Linked DNA regions of Homo sapiens: regions 2, 3, 4 and 5 are each linked to region 1. Evidence: promoter capture Hi-C in 16 types of primary human blood cells and fetal thymus (Javierre and others, 2016). All regions are on one chromosome and are shown on one strand. Each heading gives the region's core, a stretch centred on a gene start or on the middle of the fragment in contact. The rest is flanking DNA. Distances are from core to core; before and after follow the strand shown.

What was found. The method cuts DNA at HindIII sites, captures the fragments that hold promoters and counts their contacts. A CHiCAGO score of 5 or more calls a contact.
Region 2: a contact is called between a fragment that was not itself captured here and the fragment with the promoter of GAS6 in region 1, in 2 of 17 cell types (total CD8 T cells and naive CD4 T cells). The highest score is 6.2, in total CD8 T cells.
Region 3: a fragment that was not itself captured here is called in contact with the fragment with the promoter of GAS6 in region 1 in 2 of 17 cell types (naive CD4 T cells and naive CD8 T cells); the score reaches 5.9 in naive CD4 T cells.
Region 4: a contact is called between a fragment that was not itself captured here and the fragment with the promoter of GAS6 in region 1, in 1 of 17 cell types (naive CD4 T cells). The highest score is 5.0, in naive CD4 T cells.
Region 5: a contact is called between a fragment that was not itself captured here and the fragment with the promoter of GAS6 in region 1, in 2 of 17 cell types (activated CD4 T cells and endothelial precursors). The highest score is 5.2, in activated CD4 T cells.

Annotation. Positions count from the first base shown.
Region 1 is chr13:113,862,766-113,865,358 of GRCh38, forward strand. GAS6 (growth arrest specific 6) reads right to left here and starts at 1,311. Exons shown (of 15, transcript NM_000820.4): 1 at 1,068-1,311; 2 at 810-976. The coding sequence starts at 1,155. It overlaps GAS6-DT (GAS6 divergent transcript), which reads left to right and starts at 1,412. Exons shown (of 2, transcript NR_044993.1): 1 at 1,412-1,530; 2 at 2,245-2,593. RefSeq lists silencers at 335-384, 865-924, 945-1,004 and an enhancer at 725-1,316. The HindIII fragment of the contact is 18,327 bases long and covers 1-2,593 here.
Region 2 is chr13:114,324,273-114,326,865 of GRCh38, forward strand. It overlaps CHAMP1 (chromosome alignment maintaining phosphoprotein 1), which reads left to right. Exons shown (of 3, transcript NM_032436.4): 3 at 1-2,593. The coding sequence ends at 2,009. Among named protein-coding and RNA genes, the nearest start is that of LINC01054, 8.4 kb to the right of the region's middle. The HindIII fragment of the contact is 721 bases long and covers 919-1,639 here.
Region 3 is chr13:114,264,233-114,266,825 of GRCh38, forward strand. It overlaps CDC16 (cell division cycle 16), which reads left to right. Exons shown (of 18, transcript NM_001078645.3): 17 at 918-1,008. The region is part of intron 2 of LOC105370384 (a long non-coding RNA gene); the gene reads right to left. Among named protein-coding and RNA genes, the nearest start is that of MIR4502, 8.3 kb to the right of the region's middle. The HindIII fragment of the contact is 558 bases long and covers 998-1,555 here.
Region 4 is chr13:114,246,919-114,249,511 of GRCh38, forward strand. CDC16 (cell division cycle 16) reads left to right here. Exons shown (of 18, transcript NM_001078645.3): 11 at 13-86. Among named protein-coding and RNA genes, the nearest start is that of MIR548AR, 3.7 kb to the left of the region's middle. The HindIII fragment of the contact is 2,268 bases long and covers 144-2,411 here.
Region 5 is chr13:114,222,942-114,225,534 of GRCh38, forward strand. CFAP97D2 (CFAP97 domain containing 2) reads left to right here. Exons shown (of 4, transcript NM_001395229.1): 4 at 1-144. Among named protein-coding and RNA genes, the nearest start is that of CDC16, 11 kb to the right of the region's middle. The HindIII fragment of the contact is 7,731 bases long and covers 1-2,593 here.

The DNA of each region.
Region 1 (2,593 bases), core at 61-2,560:
GAGAATTCTTTAAAAGGAACATTCCAGCAGAACGGAAAACTTCGCTATGAAATCACCCTGACTTCAGGGCGGGAGGGACGTCAACGGGAATCCACACCTTCTCGGACTTTCCAAAGTCACCCGCTCCCGAGCCCGCAGGATAGAGTGGCCAGGCCGTCCTCACACGGCGGCTCCTGCGGGAGGCGGCCCCGGGCGCCCCGCCTTCTCCAAGGACATTCCTAACCGAGGTGCCGGGGCCAGCACCGTCGGGCTCCTGAAAGCACCCGCTGCCTCCAGGAGAGCACCTGGCAGAACGGGGCCGCGGAGCCGCCCTCCCCTCCCGCATGCGGCCCCGCTCGATTCCTGGAATCTTATTTTTGGACCTGCTGCCGCAAGCAGTTCCCGCCCTCGGCCCTTTCAATTCCTCTTTCGGGAGGGGACTGCTCTCCACCCCTCTCAGGAGGACGAGGCGCGGCCCGGGGGTTCCTCACCTCCAGCCCAGCAGAGGGAGGGCCGCGGGGAAGCGGTTTGGGTTTTAACCATTGTGTTTCTCTCGCACTTTGGAAACGGACTCCCGGCTTCCCCGCGGGGAGGCGTCTGACAGCGAGCGTTTCCCGGACAGCCCCGCAGCGTCTCACCGGCCTGCGCGGGGATCCCGGGGTCGCCGGGGGATGGGCGTGGGGGACGCGGGGCGGGCCGGGGCTCCTGGGACCCTGAGGCCAGGCCTCGCCGCGCGGAGCTGGGGGGCGGCAGCAGCGCTGCCTCTCGGGAGCGGTTGGAGGCGCGCGGGCGCCAGGGGTTCCCCCGCATCCCGCCCGCCGGCTGCTCACCGTCTCGGGGTCGTTCTCGAACACCTCCCGCGCCTCCTCGCGGCTGCACAGCTCCTCCACGCACTCCCTCTCCAGGTGGCCCTGCTTGGCCTCCTCGAAGACCTGAAAGGCGCGGCGCTGCCTGGGCCGCAGGAACTGCGTGGCCTCGCGCGCCGGCAACAGCGCGGCTGCCCGGAGGGAGAGAGGGGGACGCGTCAAGCCGCGCCCGGAGCCTCCTCCCGCCGCCCGGGGACGGGGTCTCGGGCCCGCGGGACTCACCAAGCGCGCACTCCGCGGCCAGCAGCAGCAGCAGCAGCTGCGGCGCGCGGCGCAGGGCGGCGGGCCCGGGCGAGAGCGAAGGGGCCATGGCGGGCCGGGGACGCGCGGTCAGAGCGCCCGGGAGGCCGAGGCGAGCCGCGGGCGCCGCGGGGCGGAGGCTCCGGTCATCCCGTCCTGGCGGCCCTGAAGGTCACATCGCGGCGGCGGCGGCGGCGGCGGCTGCGGCACCTCAAGCGCTCGGTCTGGGCGTGTTCGGGCGGCTGCGCGCGGGGAGGCGGCGGGGGCGGGACCAGCGCGCGGGCGGGGCGCGGGTTCCCGGGAGGATCCGGGCGCGGGGAAAGCGGAGCGTCCGGGACGCGGCGGGACTCGAGTGTTTCGGAAAAGGAGCGTCTCCCCAGGCGGTGGTTGTCTTCACTAGCGATGGGGTAAAAGGAGGACGCAATACCTGGTTCAACTTGAGCAGGTACATTTTGACCATATTCCAGGTGTCATGTGAAGATTTAAGCCTCTTTCCAACCCCCACTCCCCCCGAATCTACTGCATCCTTTTTGGAGTCTTCATTCTTAGGCACATTTTGTCAAGACTTAAAACCTACCAAAGAAAAGATACACTGAGGTCAGATCCAATCCCACTGGGGGCCAGCGAGTGAAATGCGACGGTTTCCTTTTATAATCTCTGTTTTTCATAATGATGACATTAAAAATCTTGAGGTTTCCCAGTAGATATTTAAGCTGAAAGCAACATTGTGCTTGTCTTCAGAGACCAAGACTTTCTGGCTCTTGTCTTGGAATATTTCGCAAAGTCATAGGCAAAACACACACAAACAAACAGAACCAAAACACAGCAGACCACTCACGGGGGACCGAACCAGGCAGTTAGCCCAGCATCCCCCTGCTGCGGGAGGAGGGAGCTTGGATACTCCTCTCTGGAGAATCCTGCTCTGGAAATCCCCACACCCCAAAATGCAATGTAGAGGGGCAGTGAGTCAGCACCTCACCCCAAATGAATGGCCGTTCTGCTCAGCAGGCTCAACGCTTAGATCCCCAGATCCAGTTTCTCTTTGCTTTCTGTAATTGGAAGAATGGAATAGGATTGCTGCTAGAAATCTTTGAGGTCACTGGTTTGAAAGTGGGATTATGAGCATGAATTTTTGTTGTTGTTGTTTGTTTGTTTTCAGACGGAGTCTCGCTATGTTGCCCAGGCTGGGGTGCAGTGGCGTGATCTCTGCTCACTGCAAGCTCCGCCTCCCGGGTTCACGCCATTCTCCTGCCTCAGCCTCCCGAGTAGCTGGGACCACAGGCGCCCGCCACCACGCCCGGCTGATTTTTTTTATTTTTAGTAGAGACGGGGTTTCACCGTGTTAGCCAGGATGATCTCAATCTCCTGACCTCGTGATCCGCCCGCCTGGGCCTCCCAAAGTGCTGGGATTACAGGTGTGAGCCACCGCGCCTGGCCGAGCATGTTAATTTAAGCAAATGAATGTCCCTGGGAATGATCTTCAAGGAGAATTAAAGTGGGATAGAGAA
Region 2 (2,593 bases), core at 29-2,528, 460 kb after region 1:
AATCGCCAAAACCTACTCCTCTTACTCCCCTGGAGCCTCAGAAACCTGGCTCTGTTGTTTCTCCTGAGCTACAGACACCTCTTCCTTCTCCTGAGCCTTCAAAACCTGCCTCTGTTTCTTCTCCTGAACCTCCAAAATCAGTCCCTGTTTGTGAGTCTCAGAAACTTGCCCCTGTTCCTTCTCCAGAACCACAGAAACCTGCCCCTGTATCTCCTGAGTCAGTAAAGGCTACTCTTAGTAATCCCAAACCCCAGAAGCAGTCTCATTTCCCGGAAACATTGGGGCCACCTTCAGCCTCATCTCCAGAGTCACCAGTTCTAGCTGCTTCCCCAGAACCTTGGGGACCATCCCCAGCTGCATCTCCAGAATCTCGGAAGTCAGCCCGGACTACCTCCCCTGAGCCAAGGAAGCCATCCCCTTCAGAGTCTCCTGAACCTTGGAAGCCGTTCCCTGCTGTCTCCCCAGAGCCTAGGAGACCAGCCCCCGCTGTGTCACCAGGCTCTTGGAAACCAGGGCCACCTGGGTCCCCTAGGCCTTGGAAATCCAATCCTTCAGCATCATCAGGACCTTGGAAGCCAGCTAAACCTGCTCCATCTGTGTCTCCTGGACCTTGGAAACCAATTCCTTCTGTATCTCCTGGACCTTGGAAACCAACTCCATCTGTGTCTTCTGCATCCTGGAAATCTTCATCAGTCTCACCCAGCTCCTGGAAGTCTCCCCCTGCATCTCCTGAGTCATGGAAGTCTGGCCCACCAGAACTCCGAAAGACAGCTCCCACGTTGTCTCCTGAACATTGGAAGGCAGTTCCCCCAGTGTCTCCAGAGCTTCGCAAACCCGGCCCACCACTATCCCCAGAGATCCGTAGTCCAGCAGGATCTCCAGAGCTCAGAAAACCCTCAGGGTCACCAGATCTTTGGAAGCTTTCTCCTGATCAGCGGAAAACTTCTCCTGCTTCACTTGATTTCCCTGAGTCCCAGAAAAGTTCCCGTGGTGGTTCTCCTGATCTCTGGAAGTCTTCCTTTTTTATTGAGCCTCAGAAACCTGTCTTCCCTGAGACCCGAAAACCAGGTCCTTCTGGGCCATCTGAGTCCCCCAAAGCAGCCTCAGATATCTGGAAGCCTGTTCTCTCTATCGATACTGAGCCTAGAAAACCTGCCCTGTTTCCCGAGCCTGCCAAAACAGCCCCTCCTGCTTCTCCAGAAGCACGCAAACGTGCCCTTTTTCCAGAGCCCCGGAAGCATGCCCTTTTCCCTGAACTCCCCAAATCTGCTCTATTCTCAGAATCACAGAAGGCTGTTGAGCTTGGTGATGAACTACAAATAGATGCCATAGATGATCAAAAATGTGATATTTTGGTTCAGGAAGAACTTCTAGCTTCACCTAAGAAACTCTTAGAAGATACTTTATTTCCTTCCTCAAAGAAGCTCAAGAAAGACAACCAAGAGAGCTCAGACGCTGAGCTTAGTAGTAGTGAGTACATAAAAACAGATTTGGATGCGATGGATATTAAGGGCCAGGAATCAAGCAGTGATCAAGAGCAGGTTGATGTGGAATCCATTGATTTTAGCAAAGAGAACAAAATGGACATGACTAGTCCAGAGCAGTCTAGAAATGTGCTACAGTTTACTGAAGAAAAAGAAGCTTTTATCTCTGAAGAGGAGATTGCAAAATACATGAAGCGTGGAAAAGGAAAGTATTATTGCAAAATTTGTTGCTGTCGTGCTATGAAAAAAGGTGCTGTTTTGCATCATTTGGTTAATAAGCATAATGTTCATAGCCCTTACAAATGCACAATCTGTGGAAAGGCTTTTCTTTTGGAATCTCTCCTTAAAAATCATGTAGCAGCCCATGGGCAAAGTTTACTTAAATGTCCACGTTGTAATTTTGAATCAAATTTCCCAAGAGGTTTTAAGAAACATTTAACTCATTGTCAAAGCCGGCATAATGAAGAGGCAAATAAAAAGCTAATGGAAGCTCTTGAACCGCCACTGGAGGAGCAGCAAATTTGATAACACAGTGTGAATATTTGTTCTACAAAGGTGTTTGTTGGAACCATTCTTTGTAAGTATAGCTTATCAGATAGCATAGTTGGATCAGTAGATGACATGTATGGTGTACCGTGTTTCACTGTCTCAGTTGTGTTACTAAGAATGAGCATTTGATCATTTTTTTCTGGTCTCTGTCTATGTGACTATCTTGTAAGTCAATAAATTTCTGTATAGTCCAGATGGATTAAACTTCTCATTTCTTTTAAATATGTATGAATAATAATACAAGGAAGTAGGCATTCCATTTAATAATCAAGAGCAAGTTGTACTCAAAGCATTCAGTTAAAGTGTATCTGTGTGTGGAACTAATTTCAGACAATAGAAAATATTAGTTGAAATGTTTAAGAATTAGGCATGAAAAATAAATTTGAGAAATTTTGTTTCCTTACATGTATTTTTAAATCATAAGAGTTATTTTCTATCTGATGTAAAATTAGTTTATAAATCTTAATCAGCTTCTAGATGTTTATTAGCTTTTATGTCATGAAATGTTGGAGTCTCAGGGTTGCTGATTTTCTGCTAATGGGAAAAATTGACTAAGTCTT
Region 3 (2,593 bases), core at 27-2,526, 400 kb after region 1:
TTTCTTCTGAGATCTGATTAATACAGAAGGCTCAGCTGGGCGCGGTGGCTCACGCCTGTAATCCCAGCACATTGGGAGGCCGAGGTGGGCAGATCATGAGGTCAAGAGATCGAGACCATCCTGACCAATATGGTGAAACCCCGTCTCTACTAAAAATAGAAAAATTAGCTGGGCATGGTAGCACATGCCTGTAGTCCCAGCTACTAGCCCTGCGCCCGGTCCCAGGCTGAGGTAGGAGACTTGCTTGAACCCGGGAGGCGGAGGTTGCAGTGAGCTGAGATCGCGCCACTGCATTCCAGCCTGGTGACAGAGCGAGACTCTGTCTCAAAAAAAAAGGAAAAAAATACAGAAGGCTCAGAGAACTCTGTATGGAGATAGAACTTCTTTTTTTTCTTTTGAGATAGTATTTTGCTTTGTCGCCTAGGCTAGAGTGCAGTGGTACGATCTCGGCTCACTGCAACCTCCACCTCCCAGCAGTTTTCCTGCCTCAGCCTCCAGAGTATCTAGGATTACAGGCACCTGCTACCATGCCTGGCTAATTTTTGTATTTTTTATTAGAGACGGGGTTTCACCATGTTTTGGTCAGGCTGGTCTCGAACTCCTGAGCCCAGGTGATCCACCCGTCTAGGCCTCCCAAAGTGCTGGGATTACAGGCATGAGCCACTGCGCCCAGTCGAGATAGAACTTTTTAAAAAATCTTTTTTGGGGTAGATTTCCAGCATAAGAAAATAGAATAGTGTGATGAACCTCCATGACCCATAACCAACTTCAACAATCTTTGGTTCATGGCCAGTCATGTAGCTATGTCTGGCCACTTCCCCCACCCTGGATGCCCTGGAATATTTTGAAATGAATCAGTGTGGTAAGAGAAGGAAATATGTTTTCTTTTAATAACCATGCTGAATCTTTTATGGCAGGCCCTTGGTCTTAGGCGAGATGATACATTTTCTGTTACAATGCTTGGTCATTGCATCGAAATGTACATTGGTGATTCTGAAGCTTATATTGGTAAGATAATCGTTATTCTTATTGGTATTGTACTCCATTTTTTAGGTTGTCATATGTCTCTGTTTATGTTTCTCATATTCTCGTCTGAGGTTCCAAGTTCATCTTTCTAACCATTCGTGCTGCATTAAAAACAAGAAACTCCATTTATTTTATTAGAACAATGCTGTGGGGGAGTTAGTGACTCACCAAGGGTGCGTTCAGTTTAAAGCTGAATACTTGCTAAGTGCAAAATACCACTATAGAATATGTGTAAAGCACTTTGTTATAGAAGGACTCATCTGTTTCTATAATGGGAAAAGAAATCTTAGCAACATTTTTCTGATAAACAATTGAAGAGGCTCTGTCATTATTTTATAATGCAGGGTATAACAATATAAATCTTTACATTTCAATAGAATGTTGAGATGCCATACATTTCCATAACAGTGAATAAGTAATAGTATAAGTTTGGATGGAATTGCTGTACTTGGGCACTCGTTTAGTTATAAACATTATGTGATAAGGAGGATGTGGTGAGGTTATTGAGATCTAGGATAGGAAAGTTGCAAGCTTGCTAACTCCCGTTCCTACTAAAGTAATTTTTTTTTTTTTTGAGATGGAGCTTCGCTCTTGTTGCCCAGGCTGGAGTGCAATGGCGCAACCTCTGCCCACCGCAACCCCTGCCTCCCTGGTTCAAGCTATTCTCCTACCTCAGCCTCCTGAGTAGCTTGGATTACAGGCATGTGCTACCACGCCTAGCTAATTATGTATTTTTAGTAGAGACTGGTCTTCTCCATGTTCAGGCCAGACTGGTCTTGAACTCCTGACCTCAGGTGATCTGCCTGCCTCGGCCTCTCAAAGTGCTGGGATAACAGGCATGAGCCACTGCGCCCAGCCCCTACTAAAGTAATTTCTGATGTAATTTCCCCCAAAGTCAAAAAGATCAGGTAATGTGATACAAAACAGAGCAGAGCCTTAGATTTTGAGAGGGATCTGTCTGCTTATGTGTCTTGGGGTTCCCTGAGGAAAACAGAGGTTTCTCCTAAAACGGGGTCTGTGGCACCCTCTGGTTTTCCCAAGGAGCCCGAGGCTGTCAGAAATTACCTTGGGTCCTCTCATGTGGACATCCAGAGTGGCGAGAAGACAGACTGGGGAACTAATCTAGCCAACTGAGAAGAAAAACAAAAAATGAGTAATACCCATTGTAAAGTTGGATAAACTGAGGCACATCACAGTTTAAAAATGCATGTTCCCATAGGCTCCACAGCTCACTCTCTTAACCATCCTGTAATTGTGCCTGCTCTATGCCCAGTCACTGATGCACTTGTGTGGTAGCTCATGGCACACCTAGCAAACAGTTTCCCTGCCCCCTTAGAACCTGGGTTTCGTTTCCTGCTCTACGGCAGTATAAACAGTTTTTCTCTGCATGTGTTGGGTTCTAACCCTATATATCTCAAATTTTATTAATATTACTGAATCTTTTTTTTTTTTTGAGACGGAGTCTCGCTCTGTCGCCCAGGGTGGAGTGCAGTGGCAGGATCTCTGCTCACTGCAAGCTCCCCCTCACCGGGGTTCATGCCATTCTCCTGCCTCAGCCTCCTGAGTA
Region 4 (2,593 bases), core at 28-2,527, 380 kb after region 1:
TGAACTTTTTAGGTGTCTTGGTTTGCAGTGGGATGTTACTATCTCATGGTCGGTCATAAAAATGAACATGCCAGAAGATATCTCAGGTATGAATTTATTTTTTTCCTCTCTAGTTAACCTGTAGAATTGATGTCTTGCTCATAAGCTTTCAAGTAGTAATTAGTGAGTACTTTAAAAGCAATGTGAAAGAATAAATGTTTTTTTTTTTCTTCCTTTCTTTTCTTTCTCTCTTTCTTTCTTGCCTTTTCTTTTCCTTCTCACCTCCCCTCCCCTCTCTCTCGAGGGTTCTCACTCTGTTGCCCAGACTAGAGTGCAGTGGTGCAATAATAGCTCACCTCAAACTCAAATGATCCTCTTGCTCAGCCTCCCGAGTAGCTGGGACTACAGGCACCACCATGCCTAGCTGATTTAAACATTTTTTTTTTTTTTTAGTAGAGACGAATCTCACTGTGTTGCCTAGGCTGGTCTTGAACTCCTGGCCTCAAGCAGTCCTCTTGCTTCGGCCTCCGAAAGTGTTGAGATGACAGGCATGAGCCACCATGCCTGGCTGAATAAATGTTTTCTTCAAGTGGTTTGTTCTTTATAAGATGCCATGGGGAGAGAGAGAAAAAAAAAATCAGTGATGTAGACCCTATTCTCAGGGAACCTACATATTTTATTTATTAATGAGAATAAATGGCCAGGCATGGTGGCTCACACCTGTTATGCCAGCACTTTGGGAGGTCAATGCAGGTGGATCACCTGAGGTCAGGAGTTCAAGACCAGCCTGACTAACATGGTGAAACTCTGTCTACTAAAAATACAAAAAATTAGCCAGATATAGTAGTGGGCATCTGCATCCCAGCTACTCGGGAGGCTGAGACAGGAGAATCGCTTGAACCTGGAAAGTGGAGGTTGCAGTGAGCTGATATCGCACCATTGCACTCCAGTCTGGGTGACAAGAGCAAAACTCTGTCTCAAAAAAATAATAATAATAATTAATAAATGAGAATAAATATGAAACAATAGAGAATAATGTAGTTTGAAAGTTTCTCTCTTTCGCTTACAGAGATCCTGTTAACCTTTTACTTTTAGGATTTCTTTTATTAATAGTTGTGAAATTACACAAAACTTTATGTAAAATTGGGGTCACTAAATGTGACTATAAAACAGAATTCTTAGCAGGGTGAACTGATTCATGTAATGATTTGCTGTGGTTTTAACTTAAGGAAAGCCATGCAGCCTAGTGAAGCTATTTAACCAGTATTATTCAAGTTTAGAAAAATGTCAAGTATGTGAAGAATTAATTACTTAAACTCTGTAAATGTTCTAATTTCTGTGGTTTCTTCCGTGCAAATAAAACAGAATTGGTCTCTAACGGAAACAGCATAAACTTTGGAGTCAAATTTGAATTCTAATCCAAGTTCTGTGACTTACCAACTGAAATTCCTTGGGAAAGTTAATTTCTCCTGCTCTCTCTTTCTTTAAAAATGGGGATGTCAGCCAGGCGTGGTGGCTCACGCCTGTAATCCCAACACTTTGGGAGGCCGAGACAGGCAGATTACCTTAGGTCAGGAGTTCGAGACCAGCCTGGCCAACATGGTGAAAGTCTGTCTCTACTAAAAATAAAAAAATCAGCTGGACATGGTGGCATGCACCTGTAATCCCCGCTACTTGGGAGGCTGAGGGAGGAGAATTGTTTGAGTCCAGGAGGTGGAGGTTGTAGTGAGCTGAGATTGCACTACTGCACTCCAGCCTCGCCGACAGAGTGAGACTCTGTCTCAAAAAAAATAAAAGGGAGTGGGGGTGGGGGAGATGTCATACTCATATAGCAGGATTGTTAGGAAGACTGATGCCACGAAAGTACCCTGTACTAGGAAGAAACTAGAATGTTCCCTGGTTGGTTGTATGTTCAGCATTTTAGAAGAACTTCTACATAGAAAGATGATTAGTATTGTAAAAGTTATTTTGAGCTATGCTGCTTTGATCTAGCGTGCAATTCAGTGATGGACTCTTATCAGTGGTCCCCAACATTTTTGGCACCAGGGACCATTTTGTAGAAGCCCCCCCTCCCAGGGTGGGGGGACTGGTTTCTTGATGATTCAAGCGCATTACATTTATCGTGTGCTTTTTTCTATTATTATTACATTGTAGCATATAATGAAATAATTATACAACTCACTATAATGAAGAATCAGTGGGAGCCCTGAGCTTGTTTTCCTGCAACTAGATGGTCCCATCTGGGAGAGATGGGAGACAGCGACAGGTCATCAGGCATTAGATTCTCGTAAGGAGTGCGCCACCTAGATCCCTCACATGTGCAGTTAACAATAGGGTTTGCGCACTTACGAGAACCTAATGCCTCTGATCTGACAGGAGGCAGAGCTCAGGCGGAAATGCAAGTGAAGGGGAGTGGCTGTAAATACAGATTAAGCTTTTTTTTTTTTCAAATGGCAAGTTCTTTCTTGACATATGAAGCTTTACTCACCTGCCTGCCACTCACCTCCTGCTGTGCCGCCTGGTTCCTAATAGGCCAGGGACTGATACCAGTCTGTGGCCCAGGGGTTGGGACCCCTGCTCTACATGAAACAGGTAACATTTGGATAAAAGAAAA
Region 5 (2,593 bases), core at 54-2,553, 360 kb after region 1:
TTATTCTGTTACTGTATTTTGAGCTGTGGTGGATTTGTCTATAATTCCTAGGTGGATTTTTAACTTACCTTAAAAGCTCTGTGATTGTTCCTTTAACAAATATCTAAATAAATCAGATTAAAATTTTTGAACGTGATGAAACTACAGCTTGACTCCAGAATACATAACCTAAGATATAAAAAAGACCCAGAGGGCCAGGCACGATGGCTCACGCCTGTAATCCCAGCACTTTGAGGGGCCGAGGTGGGCGGATCACAAGGTGAGGAGTTCGAGACCAGCCTGACCAACATGGTGAAACCCCATCTCTACTAAAAATACAAAGAAGTTAGCCAGGCATGGTGGCGGGCACCTGTAATCCCAGCTACTCAGAAGGCTGAGGCAGGAGAATCGCTTGAACCTGGGAGATGGAGGTTGCAGTGAGCCGAGAACGCGCCACTGCACTCCAACCGGGGCGACAGAGCAAGACTCCATCTCAAAAAAAAAAAAAAAAAGAAAGAAAAAAGAAAAGAAAAGAAAAGAAAAAAGGACCCAGAGAGTCTCGGTTGGAGACATCAAGGGTATGTCTGAGAGCCCTTGGGATCTGCTTAGTTCTCTATCAGCCCCAGGTAAGATCCCGCCTAAGCTGTTCCACAACAATGAACATCAGCCCATGGGCAATGCCTTTTAAAAATGAGTTAAAAGACTCACACACACCTTCATTCATTCAACAGAACTCTGCATATGTAGTCTCAGCCTCATGGAGCTGATAGCTAGCCCCTCAGAAATGTCACGGTCCCTAACTACTCTTTGCTATTTATTTATTTATTATTTTTATTTTATTTATTTATTTTTTGAGATGGATGGGATTACAGGCACATGCACCACCACTCCCAGCTAATTTTTGTATTTTTAGTAGAGACGGGGTTTCACCATGTTGACCAGGCTGGTCTTGAATGCCTGACCTCAGGTGATCTGTCTGCCTTGGCCTCCCAAAGTACTCTTTGCTATTTTTAACCTATATTATAGATTTAAATTTTTGTTTTGTTTTGTTTGAATGAAAATAAGAAGATAATTTCAGGCTGGGCATGGTATCGCACACCTACATTCCCAGCAGTTTGGGAGGCCAAGGTGGGAGGGTCGCATGAGCCCAGGAATTCAAGACCAGCCTGGGCCACATGATGAGACCCCGTCTCTACCAAAAAAAAAAAAAAAAAAAAAAAGAAGCAGCAGCTAATTTCATTCCTTATTTCATTCCTTTATGCACAAGCCCCTTTAAAATACACTTGACATGAATAGCAGAGCTTGCCTCCGGCTCCTCCATGCAGAATTCGGCAATCCCAGGTTCCTCACCGCTCCTCAGGGTGGACCTTCCATTGACAGTGTTTAAAATCACAGACTGTGGGGTCAGACAGGCCTGGATGTGGATTCTGGGTCTCCTGCTGATCCCCCGAGTGGACCTCCCGAAGCCTCTCCTGTGCAGCAGGTGGTGCTGGAGCCTGAGATGCCGGCATCGGGCCGGGAGGAGCTGGGCCTCTGCCCACTGCAGCCATGACCTCTCCAGGCAGCCCCGCCCCCCTGTGTCGTGAAGCGCAACTGGGCACAGGACCTCCATTAACAGTCCACGTCTGTGCTAAACTTGATGGAAAAAATGGCCTCTCCATAGCGATTTGTGTCCTTGGTTTGCAAGCCTCGAATTTGCACCTCCTTTTCGAGGTGGCAGTTTAGGGTTGACTCTGGCAGCATTTTCCGAATGTGCCTGCCTGTGTGTCCCCACCTTGTTCCACCCCACAAGGGTTGTGCTGTAGGAGTCCTGGCCTCTGCCAGCCCTCCCTGATGGGCCCTAATGCAATGAACGTCAAAGGATCTATCACAAAACTAGAAAGGCTGCTGTCTGGTCCTGAGAACATTGTTCTCTTTTCAATCTCTCTTTCCAGAGAGCAAACAGTTTATAAAGACTGACAAATTGCTACACATAGTCAAGAAGTAGACAAAATCTTGCCATTACACAGAAGAGCCATAATGTCAGCTCTTTTCCCTTCTGGACTTTGCTCAGAGAGTCAGTGGACAAATGAGCATCCTGCCAGCAGCCTTAGTGTAAAAACCAGCCACCCACAAGCTCTGATGACCTGAAAAGTCAAGTACCAGGTGCATTTTCAGATCCAGAGATGTGTCTGTCCCATGTTACTCTGGGTATCAAATTAATTGAAACCTATAGAACTTTGAAATGCTTTAAAACCATCATAAATATAATGGATGGAGCAGTGAGGACAGAAGCCTGTCTATCCTGTGTGAGGTGGGCACACAGGAAATACGTGTTAAATATAGAAAGGAAGAAAATAAAGGAGGGAGAGAAGAAGGGAGAAGGGAAAAGAAGGTAGAAAAGTAGTCCTATAGTGGAAGAGGAGGGGAAGAGACAGAAGGAGGAGGAGGAGGACAGAGGAGGGAGGGGGAGGGGGAAGGGCTAGGGAGGGGAGGAGAAGTGAGGGGGGAAAGGGGAGGGGAGGAAGGGGAGGGGGGAGGGGGGAGGGGAAGGGGAGGGAGGGGGAGGGAAAGGGGGAGGGGAGGGAGGGGGAGGGAAAGGGGGAGGGGAGGGAGGGGGAGGGAAAGGGGGAGG